2 separate regions of the Homo sapiens genome follow, and region 2 is linked to region 1. The links are contacts of gene promoters, found by promoter capture Hi-C in human tissues and cell types (Jung and others, 2019). All regions are on one chromosome and are shown on one strand. The core of a region is centred on a gene start or on the middle of the fragment in contact, and the rest is flanking DNA. Distances in the headings are between cores, read along the strand shown. Region 1 holds the start of GIPR (gastric inhibitory polypeptide receptor). Region 2 holds the start of TMEM160 (transmembrane protein 160).

The links. The method cuts DNA at HindIII sites, captures the fragments that hold promoters and counts their contacts. A contact is called where the count stands out against the background at its distance.
Region 2: the fragment with the promoter of TMEM160 here is called in contact with the fragment with the promoter of GIPR in region 1 in 1 of the 25 tissues and cell types used here (heart left ventricle).

The regions. Positions count from the first base shown.
Region 1 is chr19:45,663,484-45,669,470 of GRCh38, reverse strand. GIPR (gastric inhibitory polypeptide receptor) reads right to left here and starts at 1,250. Exons shown (of 14, transcript NM_000164.4): 1 at 1,173-1,250. RefSeq lists an enhancer at 546-825 and a silencer at 1,206-1,365. The HindIII fragment of the contact is 19,339 bases long and covers 1-5,987 here.
Region 2 is chr19:47,045,459-47,051,390 of GRCh38, reverse strand. TMEM160 (transmembrane protein 160) reads left to right here and starts at 2,767. Exons shown (of 3, transcript NM_017854.2): 1 at 2,767-2,984; 2 at 4,706-4,798; 3 at 5,139-5,482. The coding sequence starts at 2,777. The coding sequence ends at 5,404. It overlaps NPAS1 (neuronal PAS domain protein 1), which reads right to left. Exons shown (of 12, transcript NM_002517.4): 12 at 5,616-5,932. The coding sequence ends at 5,740. RefSeq lists enhancers at 1,307-1,824, 1,825-2,342, 2,466-2,760, 3,270-3,339 and a silencer at 2,800-2,989. The HindIII fragment of the contact is 17,900 bases long and covers 1-5,932 here.

The DNA of each region.
Region 1 (5,987 bases), core at 1-2,500:
GGTCCCAGGGCAAGGTCAGCACCTCTGCCCTCCTACTCCAACCCCAGCGTCACCCCGCCTCAGGGATTCACACACAGGGGCAGACGGCTGGGGAGCCGTATACACGCGGGACTCCGAGGCAGCGCACCCGCTCCCGCAACTCCCAGGCGTGATGATCTGGGGGGAGGGAGAGGCACGCGGAGTGGGTGGAACTCCGGTGGTGGGCGGGGCCCCTTAAGTGATTCCCCGGCCTCCCCTGACTGTTGTTGGGGCAGCAAAGGTGGAAGGGGGGGGTGTTTGCTGAGCGGGCGGTTGCCCTAGAGCTACGCTGGGCGGAAGTGTCAGTGTCACCGAAGTCTGGACCTACAGACTCCTGGGAACCCGGGGACCGCCTTGGAGAGGAGGGGGTAGAAACCGTCAGCCTAGACCCCTTTTCTATGGGGAACTGAAAAACTTGAAGGTTTTCAGTACCCCCTAGTGGGGTACTTGAAACGCCCATCTGAGTTCCCACAGCCTGGTGGAGAACTTGAAACGCCCATCCGAGCTCCCACTCTCCAAGCCCAAAGGGTTTTCTAGCACACATAGGAACCTGACCTTACAAAACTTTCCCCGCTGGGGGTAGATAAAGCCCAGAGTAAGTGGAACAACCCTTTCCCAGCATCCAAATACTTAGGGACTAGAGAAGCGACAGATCCGGGGTTAGATGTGCAGATGCCTGGAAATCGGTCTAACGCCCGACACCCACTCACCCGCGCCCCCGCGGCTCCACGTAGAGAAAGACGGAAGCAGAGAGGATCTCAGGTCGAGCCTCAGAAGGACAGACAACGGCGTCACAGACACAAGAGACAGAAATGTAAAGACTGAGAGGCGCAGAGACGGAGGGACAGAATGAGACCCCCAGCCAGAGACCAGAGAAAAACAAACAGAGAAAGAGACGCAGATGTGGGCTAGGAGACAAAGAAGAGGCAGAGACGTGGAGGGAGACAGAGCAGGGGAAAGAGAAGTTATCTAGCAGCTAACCAGAGATGGAAACACGCAGACAGAGACATCAAGAGACAGAGATGAGCAGAGATGGTGGTGGGCACAGAGACAGAGAGACAAAGGCAGGGCAGAGAAGCAGAGAGGGAGAGTGCCAGAGACTTGAGAGGTCAAGGGGGGGCAGGGAGAATGGGCTGGGATTGGGGAGCCCTCACCTGTCCCCAGTCCTGCTCCTGGTCACTTGCTCCTGCAGCCCCTGCCACCGCTGCCTCCAACTGCCTTGTCTCGGCTCTGGGAGAGGTGACAGGCGCTGGCAGCCCGGGGTGATGGGAGGGGGCGGGGCCAAGGCGGGACAGGGAACGGAAGCGGGGAGCTCTGGGGCAGAGAGCCGAGCAGGGGGCAGTCATCAAGGTCATGAGGGAGGGCAGTTACTGAATTGTCCTTATCGTCCTGAGGACCCCTGCACCAAGTGTGTACAATCTCTCATGCTGTCCCACCCACAGGTACCCGCCCCCACCGCCACTCATTCCCAGAGCCTCAGTCACTCAATCAAACATGCAGTGTCACACACAATCCCATAGGCTGAGCCATGGAAAGGCACAGTCACAGAACCTCACAAGCTGTTACTCACACAGTCACACATTCAGTCACACCCATACAGTCCCATGGTCACACCCAGACAGCCACAGTCTCTCACTCACAGGTGGACAGTCATCCACTGTGACACACAGTCATGTACCCAGGGCTATGGACTCCTGCACACACACAGTAACGCTCACAGTGTCTCACAGTTCCAACAACACTGTCAATCACCCACACATTCACGCAATCACCGGGTTTCATCACAAACACTGTTGCCCTGCTAGCCTGTGTGGCCCAGGAGGGTAGAGCCAGGACATCTGGGTCACCACTGGGTCCCCAAAATCGTTAAGAGCAGGGGTTCAAGGAAGGATTGTCATGAAATAAATATACGCAGTATGCAGTTGTGTGGTTACTCGCAGACATAGAATTTTTTTTTTTTGAGACAGAGTCTTCCTCTGTTGCTGAGGCTGGAGTACAGAAGCATGATCTCAGCTCACTGCAACCTCCGCCTCCTGGGTTCAAGCAATTCTCCCACCGCAGCCTCCCAAGTAGCTGGGATTCCAGGCACACACCACCACAACCGACTAATTTTTGTATTTTTAGTAGAGACGGTGTTTCACCATGTTGCCCAGGCTGGTCTCAAACTCCTGACCTCAGGTGTTCCACATGTCTTGGCCTTCCAAAGTGGTGGGATTACAGGCGACAGCCACCACACCCGGCCCATACAATCCTTTTTACATTTTATTTATTTATTTATTTATGAGAGTGGAGTGCACTGGAACAATTATAGCTCACTGCAGCCTCCACTTCCTGGGCTCAAGGGATCCTCTTAACTCAGCCTCTTGACTAGCTGGGACTATGGGCATGAGCCACCATGCCCCACCATTTTATTAAAAAATAATTTCAACTTTTTTTTTTTTGAGACAGGGTCTCACTCTGTCACCCAGGATGGAGTGCAGTGGCGCCATCTTGGCTCACTTCAACCTCCGCCTCCAGGGTTCAGGAGATTCTCCTGCCTCAGCCTCCCGAGTAGCTGGGACTACAGGTGTGTGCCACCACACCCAGCTAAAATTTTTGTATTTTTAGTAGAGATGGGGTTTCACCATGTTGGCCATGCTGGTCTCCAACTCTTGGCCTCAAGCAATCCTCCTGCCTCGGCCTCCCAAAGTGCTGGGACTACAGGGATGTGCCATCACACCCAGCCTCAACTTTTATTTATTTATTTATTCATTTATTTTAATTCATTTTATTTATTATTTTTTCTAGACAGGGTCTCACTCTGTCACCCAGGCTGGAGTGCAGTGGCGCCAACTTGGCAACCTCTGCCTCTTGGGTTCAGGCGATTCTCATGCCTCAACCACCAGAGTAGCTGGGACTACAGGTGTATGCCACCACGCCTGGCTGATTTTTATATTTTTAGTAGAGATGAGGTTTCACCATGTTGGCCATATTGTTCTCCAACTCCTGGCCTCAAGTGATCCTCCCGCCTTGGCCTCCCAAAGTGCTGGGATTACAGGTATGAACCACCGCGCCTGGCCTTAACTTTTATTTTAGATTCAGGGGGCACATGTGCAGGTTTGTCACGGGGGTGTATTGCACGATGCGGAGGTTGGGGGTATAAATGATCCCATCATCCAGGTAGTGAGCATGGCACCCAACGGGTAGTTTTTTAACCCTTGTCTCCTTCCCTGCCCCCTCTAGGAGTCCCCAGTGTCTGTTGTTCGCATGTTGGTGTCCATGTGTACCCAGTGCTCAGCTCCCACTTATAAGTAAGAGCATCTGGTGTTTGGATTTCTGTTCCTTTGTTAATTCACTTAGGATACTGGCCTCCAGCTGCATCTGTGTTGCTGCAAAGGACTTTCCTTTCCTTTTCCTCTCCCCTCTCCCCTCTCCCCTCCCCCCTCCCTTCCTCCCTTTCTCCCTTTCTCTCTTTCTTTCTTGGGATGGAGTCTCACTCTGTCGCCCAGGCTGGAGTGCAGTGGCACGATCTCAGCTCACTGGAACCTCTGCTTCCCAGGTTCAAGCAGTTCTCCTGTCTTAGCCTCCCAAGTAGCTGGGATTACAGGCGCCCGCAACCATGCCCGGCTAATAATTTTTTTTTTTTTTTTGGCCGAGTCTCCCTCTGTAGCCCAGGCTGGAGTACAGTGGCGTGATCTTGGCTCACTGCAATCTCCACCTCCCGGGTCCTGGTTCAAGCAATTATCCTGCCTCAGCCTCCCGGGTAGCTGGGATTACAGGCACGCGCCACCATGCCCAGCTAATTTTTGTATTTTTAGTAGAGACAAGTTTTCACCATGTTGGCCAGGCTGGTCTTGAACTCCTGACCTCGTGATCCTCCCGCCTCAGTCTCCCAAAGTGCTGGGATTACAGGCGTGAGCCACTGTGGCTGGCTTTTTTTTTTTTTTTTTTTTTTAGAAGAGATGGGGTTTCACTATGTTGGCCAGGCTGGTCTCAAATTCCTGACTTCAGGTGATCTGCCTGCCTCAGCCTCCCAAAGTGCTGGAATCACAGGCATGAGCCACTGTGCCCGACTCTTTTTTTTTTTTGAGACAGAGTCTTGCTGTGTCACTCAGGCTGGAGTGCAGTGGCGTGATCTCAGCTCACTGCAAGCCTCGCCTCCCAGGTTCACGCCATTCTCCTGCTTCAGCCTCCCGAGTAGCTGGGAGTACAGGTGCCCGCCACCATGCCCGGCTAATTTTTTGTATTTTTAGTAGAGACGGGGTTTCACCGTGTTAGCCAGGATGGTCTCGATCTCCTGATCTCGTGATCCACCCGTCTCGGCCTCCCAAAGTGCTGGGATTACAGGCATGAGCCACCGCGCCTGGCCTTTTTTTTTTTTAATGTCTTATTATACAGTCTTTTTATGACACAAGCTGAAAGTCACACACAATGTCATGCAACCACACCCATTAACACCGTCACACACTCACACACTTCACAGTCACCCACAGAGTCCTCAGTCACATTCCAACAACACACATTCCCCAACTGTCATGAGGCAAACACTCTCACACCGTCACCCTCACCCCCACGGTCACACTGAGTGACATGGTCATACAGACTCACAACTCTCCCTTAGTCTCACCCATATTCACAAGTCACATACAGTCATATACATGTCACGCACACAACCTCACTGTCCCATAGCTGTGCACGTCACAGTGACTTGTCACACCCTGCAATCCCACCTCCCACAGTCACGCACAGTCACACAGGTGCACACAGGGTCACACACACCATCGTGTCACAATTGCACACTAACCCATAGCCTCACATGGTCTCATCATGACAGTCGCCAGTGAATCACACACATTCTCTGCTGTCTCTACTTCCAGTCTGTTCCTTTGCCCTAAATATGGGGAACATCTGTACGTGACTGGGGGTGGGGGACAGGCTCAGAGCCCAGTCCCAGCTCCCAGCTCTCATCTCCTGTTAATACAAACTCCAATTCCTGCACATTAATCATACAATGGACATTTGTGAGCATGCACTCCCCTGGGACTCTAAGTGGGACAGAGGCGAGTCTGCCCATTTTGTAGAGGAGAAATTAAGGCCCAGAGGCCCCAGGAGGGACAGGGAGTAAGGGGTGGCATGAGGTCTGCACCAGAGGCTGGAAGGAGACAAGTCTCGGGGGAGGCGAGGGTTCTCGCTTCCTGGACTTAGGCTGCCTCCCCGCTCTCTGCCCCACATTCCTGGTGCCCTCCGGGTCCTGGGAAAGGCTCCTGTCCTGGAGTGGAGAGGGAAGGGGGTCTGAGATTGCCCAGCACCTTGGGAGAAGTTTAGGTTGGAAGGGAGTCTCTCCTTGGCCCCAATGAGGGCCTGAGGTCACTCCACAGAGGAAGGCAGTGAGGGGTGGGGAGGCTGTAGAGGGGGAAGGGAGAGGCTGGCAGGGAGGGGGAAGCAGTGGAGAGGAAATGAGCTGGTGGTGTGAAACAGGAAAAGGAGCTAAGAGCCTAGTGTGGTGGCTTACACCTGTAATCCCAGCACTTTGGGAGGCCAACATGGGAGGATCACTTAAGCCCAGGAGTTGGAGACCAGCCTGGGCAACATAGCCAGATCCCGTCTCTAAAAAAAAAATATTTTTTTTTTTCAGTTTTCCAATTAAAAAAAAAAATTTACCTTAAGTTCTGGGATACATGTGCTGAACGTACAGGTTTGTTACATAGGTATGCATATGCCATGGTGGTTTGCTGCATCTATCAACACGTCATCTAGAATTAAAAACAAAATTTTTGTTTTTTTTGAGACAGAGTTTCACTCTGTCGCCCAGGCTAGGGCAGAGATTGCAGTGAGCCAGGTTCAAGTGATTCTCCTGCCTCAGCCTCCCGAGAGGCTGGGATTACAGGCACCTGCCACCATGCCTGGCTATTTTTTTTTTTTTGTACTTTTAGCAGAGTTGGGTTTTCACCAAATTGGTCAGGCTGGTCTTGAACTCCTGACTTCAGGTG
Region 2 (5,932 bases), core at 1,518-4,017, 1.4 Mb before region 1:
CTCCCTTCCCTACACATCAAGCTCAGGGATTTGCCCCCACCCAGGACTGGCAAATTAGCTTTACTCAACATGCCCCGAGTCAGGAAACCAAAATACCTCTTAGTCTAGGCAGACACTTTCACTGGATAGGTACAGGCCTTTTCTACAAGGTCTGAGAAGGCCACCGCAGTCATTTCTTCCCTTCTGTCAGACATAATTCCTCAGTTTAGCCTTCCCACCTCTATACAGTCTGATAACAGACCAGCCTTTATTAGTCAAATCAGCCAAGCAGTTTTTCAGGCTCTTAGTATTCAGTGAAACCTTTATATCCCTTACGGTCCTCTGTCTTCAAGAAAAGTAGAACGGACTAAAGGTCTTTTAAAAACACACCTCACCAAGCTCAGCCACCAACTTAAAAAGGACTGGACAATACTTTTACCTCTTTTGCTTCTCAGAATGCTGCAGGGTACAGCCTATTTGAGCTCCTGTATGGACAATCCTTTTTATTAGGCCCCAGTCTCATTCCAGACACCGGACCAACTTAGACTGTGCCCCAAAAAAACTTGTCATCCCTACTATTTTCTGTCTAGTCATACTCCTATTCTCCGTTCTCAACTACTCATACGTGCCCTGCTCTTGTTTACACTGCTGGTTTACACTGTTTCTCCAAGCCATCACAGCTGATATCTCCTCATGCTATCCCCAAACTGCCACTCTTAACTCCTGAAGTAAACAAATAATCTTTGCTGGCAGGACTATGCTGAATCTCCTTAGGCACTCTCTAATCAGATGTCCTAGGTCCTCCCAATTCTTAGACCTTTTATACCTGTTTTTCTCCTTCTCTTATTCCATTTAGTTTTTCAATTCATACAAAACTGTACCCAGGCCATCACCAATACTTCTACACAACAAATGTTTCTTCTAACAACCCCACAATATCACCCCTTACCACAAAATCTTCCTTCAGCTTAATCTCTCCCACTTTAGGTTCGCACGCCGCCCCTAATCCTGCTTGAAGCAGCCCCGAGAAACATCGCCCATTCTCTCTCCATACCACCCCCCAAGACTTCAACACTATTTTGTTTTATTTTTCTTATTAATAAAAGAAGGCAGAAATGTCAGGCCTCTGAGCCCAAGCCAAGCCATCGCATCACCTGTGACTTGCACGTATACATCCAGATGGCCTGAAGTAACTGAAGATCCACAAAAGAAGTAAAAATAGCCTTAACTGATGACATTCCACCATTGTGATTTGTTCCTGCCCCACCTAACTGATCAATGTACTTTGTAATCTCCCCCACCCTTAAGAAGGTTCTTTGTAATTCTCCCCACCCTTGAGAATGTACTGTGTGAGATCCACCCCTGCCCGCAAAACATTGCTCTTAACTTCACCGCCTATCCCAAAACCTCTAAGAACTAATGATAATCCACCACCCTTTGCTGACTCTCTTTTCGGACTCAGCCTGCCTGCAGCCAGGTGAAATAAACAGCCATCTTGCTCACACAAAGCCTGTTTGGTGGTCTCTTCACATGGACGCGCATGAAACGATTCTCCTGCCTCAGCCTCACAAGTAGCTGGGATTACAGGTGCCTGCCACCATGCCTAATTTTTGTATTTTTAGTAGAGATGGGGTTTCACCATGTTGGTCAGGCTGGTCTCGAACTCCTGATCTCGTGATCTGCCCGCCTCAGACTCCCAAAGTGGTGGGATTACAGATGTGAGCCACCGTGCCTGGCCCGGGCTTGGATTTTATGAAGAGGAAAAGTAGGGGAGCTAGCAAGGGGGTTACACTTGAGGAGGGAGTTCAAATGGACTGCACTGCATAGCCTGCAGGCTTGCAATGAATGTGAAGCTTTAAATGGGATTAAGTGCAAATTGAAAATATTCCAGACACATTTTTCACATTCCTGGCTAGTGAAAAGGTTTATGCTGATGAGAGAAGGCAAAGCTGAATCCCGGAATGGGTTAGGGCAAAGAAAACAAATCTGTCTTAAAGAGACAGACCTGGCCGGGCACGGTGGCTCACGCCTGTAATCCCAGCACTTTTGGAGGCCGAGGCGGTTGGATCACTTGAGGTCAGGAGTTCGAGACCAGCCTGGCCAACATGGTGAAACCCTGTCTCTACTAAAGATACAAAAATTAGCTGGGCGTGGTGGCGCATGCCTATAATCCCAGCTACTCAGGAGGCTGACGCAGGAGAATCGCTTGAACCCGGGAGGTGGAGGTTGCAGTGAGCCGAGATCGCACCACTGCACTCCAGCCTGGGCGACAGAGCAAGACTCGGTCTCGGGGCGGGGAAAAAAAAGGAAGGAGGGAAGGAAGGAAGGAGGGGAGGGAAGGGAGGGAGGGAGGGAAAAAGAAAGAGAGAAAGAAAGAAAGAAGGAAAGAAAGAAAGAGAAAGAAAGAAAAAGAAAGAAAGAAAGAAAGAGAAAGAAAGAAAGAGAAACAACCAAGAAACAACTACAATAGGTGCTCGGCATGTACTCCGTTAAAAAAGATAGAATTAAAACTACAATTCCCAGCAGACATCTCGCCTGCGACTTCTGAATATCGGCTTTCCCCGAGCGCAATGATCGCTGGGATTCGTAGTCCGGTACAAAATCAAGGAGGGACGGGCACTACCGGCCTAGATGACAGAGGAGGGAATCACTGCCATTCCGACCAATGGACAGTTCACGCCGGACCTGAGTGGCGAGCGCATAGCCAATGGGTAAGCCATTCATCCTGAGTGACATGGGTTGCAACCTACCGGAGGCCGGTGGGGCGGTACGGCGCGCGGCGGCCGTAGTGCGAATCATGGGAGGCGGCTGGTGGTGGGCTCGGGCCGCTCGCCTTGCCCGTCTTCGCTTCCGGAGGTCGCTACTGCCGCCTCAGCGGCCCCGGAGCGGGGGCGCCCGGGGGTCCTTCGCCCCCGGCCACGGTCCCCGCGCCGGGGCTTCGCCGCCCCCAGTGTCCGAGCTGGATCGTGCGGACGCCTGGCTCCTCCGAAAAGCGCACGAGACAGGTCGGTGGCTAGGGGTGGGGGCGGTGCGGATGGGACGGGGGTCCCGGGCTCGCGTGGGACCTTGATGGGGCGGGGGCTTCTGCAGGAAACGGGGCCCGGGCTCGGCTCCGAGAAGGGCTTCAGTGTGAGCGCACGGAAGCGCAGACTGCAAGAGCGCAGGTGCCCGCAGAGGGGATGGGCTTGCGGGGAGGACGAGGACCCCGGGTAACGGGGCGCCGTAGGGATTGGAGGGGGTGGTAGGGTTGCGCGAGGCAGCCTCGTAGAATCGCGCCTGCCGTGGGGAGAGGGGCTTCAGGGAGAGCTTAGGGTCTGTGGAGTTGGGTACAAGATGGGTCCATCCCGATTGCAGAGGCCACCACTGTGCAGAGAGCGGGAGTGTGGATCCCCGCAGAAGAGGGGGAAGTTCAGGATTGGAGAAGGGGACAACCAATCGGGAGAAAGCTCTCTGCTGATTGGAGGGGGAGGTGATCTAGGCTGCAGAGGGCGGGGCTTGTGACGGAGGCGAGGTCCAGAATGGAGCGGACTGGCCATGTTTGTTTTTTTTTTAATTTTATTTTTTTAATGACGGTGTCTTGCTCTGTCACCGAGGCTGGACCGCAGTGGCGCAATCGTAGCCCACTGCAGCCTTGAACTCCTGGGCTCAAGCTATCCTCTTGCCTCAGCCTCCTGCTTAGCTGGAGCTACAGGCATACACCACCGCACCCAACTATTTTAATTTATGTAGAGACGGGGTCTTGCTTTGTTGCCCAGGCTGGTCTGAACTCTTGGGCTCAGAGAATCCTCCTGCCTTGGCTTCCCAAAGTGCTGGGATTATAGGTGTGAGTCACCTCACTAGGCCAGGACCGGGCATCTAGATATAGGGTGTGGTGGGCTGTTTGTAAAGGACGTGAATGGGGACGGACGTGGGTGGGATTGGCCCAGGCCATACTCGGTAGGACATGGATGGGATTGGCCCAGGCCATACTCGGTAGGAGATGGCGGCATTTGAAGGAAAAGAAGGGCGAGGCTGAAGAGCGGCCTGGATTAGGAAACAGTTTGTCCCAGAGTTCTGAGAAAGAAGTGAGTGGGCAGGCCGTGGGGGTACACGTAGAGGGAGGGGTTTGGCCAAGATGACTCCTCAGATGGAGGTTCTGCAACTTTGCCCCTAGATTGTCCTCCACATTCTGCAGGGACTATCTTGAATCCTTTATTTTTTTTGAGACGGAGTCTCACTCTGTCGCCCAGGCTGGAGTGCAGTGGCATGATCTTGGCTCGCTGCAACCTCTACCTCCTGGATTCAAGTGATTCTCCTCCCTCAGCTTCCTGAGTAGCTGGGACTACAAGCACGTGCTACCACACCCTGCTAATTTTAACATTTTTAGTAGAGACAGGGTTTGACTATGTTGGCCAGGCTGGTCTCAAACTCCTGACCTCATGATCCGCCTGCCTTGGCCTCCCAAAGTGCTGGGATTACAGGGGTGAGCCACCACACCCGGCCCTTGAATCCTTAGTGTTACAGAGTTTGGGGGAGAGGGGCACTGAGGTGGAGGCCAGAGAGGATGTGGGGGGATATGGTTAGGTGAGCGGCTTCCTGGAAGAGGTGAGGATTTGGGATGGGCTTGCCTTGCGGCTGGATGGGATGGGGTGAGCTGAAGGGAGGCCCCTCAGTTTGACTGGGTAAGGGGGATTGAGGAGGTAGGGTTGGGGGTGATGTTAATCCCCCCATGTCCCCCTCCCTCCAGCCTTCCTCTCCTGGTTCCGCAATGGCCTCCTGGCATCGGGCATCGGGGTCATCTCCTTCATGCAGAGTGACATGGGTCGGGAAGCAGCATATGGTGAGTGCAGACCCCCCCTCTCGCCCCACGGAACCAGGGAATGCAGAGCCCCTATCACCTGCCCTGGTGAGAGTAGACTCTCCTACCCCATCCCACTCCCAGTAGTAAGTATAGAACCCCCATTCTTCCCCCACCAGAAGACACCCCTCCCATAGGCACTAGGTCCATCTGAATGGGTGGCCCAGGACATGGTTATGGTCCCCTCCCCTCCGATCTGATTCTCAAAGATGCAGGCTAGCCCCTGGCACGGCCCTGCCTCTGTTCCTGTCTCCTCAACCCTGGCTTTGCTCCCAGACCATCCCCCGACCTTGGCCCTGTTGCTACCCTGCCTCTCCCGCAGGCTTCTTCCTGCTGGGCGGCCTGTGCGTGGTGTGGGGCAGCGCCTCGTACGCCGTGGGCCTGGCGGCGCTGCGAGGACCCATGCAGCTGACGCTGGGGGGCGCGGCCGTGGGCGCGGGCGCCGTGCTGGCCGCCAGCCTGCTCTGGGCGTGCGCCGTGGGCCTCTACATGGGGCAGCTGGAGCTGGACGTGGAGCTGGTGCCCGAGGACGACGGGACGGCCTCCGCGGAAGGCCCTGATGAGGCGGGTCGGCCGCCACCCGAGTGAGCGACACGGCCGTGGGGCCTGGCAGGCGCTGGACAGCGCCCGAGGACTGGGACATTAAACCTGACCTCCCCTCCTCCAGATGCAGAGTATTGGTTCGTGTTCCTTGGGAAGGGCGGCGAGGAGCGGACTAACTGGAGAGGCAGGAGGGCGGGTGGAGGGAGAGGGGGGTGAGGACCCGGGGGAGACAGAAATGGACAGAGGAGCTCACAGCCCGGAGCCCAAACCACTGCAGGGAGAGCCGGCGTTTAATTCTCAGGGCTACGGGCAGAGCCGGGCCTACTGTCCTGGGGGACCCCGGTTGTCGCAGGGTCCGGCGCCGGCAGCTCTGCCAGTCCTCAGTCCCCCTTCCGCGGCAGCCTGGTGCCCGCGGGCCCCGGGTAGGGCAGGCCCAGGGGCGGGTAAAAGGCCTCCGGGAGCGCGGGGCCCGGACCCAGCCTCTGCAGGTGCGGGTACACCAGGCCCAGCTCCGCGGGGCCGTAGCGGATGGTGCCGGGTGTGCACAGGCCCCGCACCACCGGCGGCAGGAAG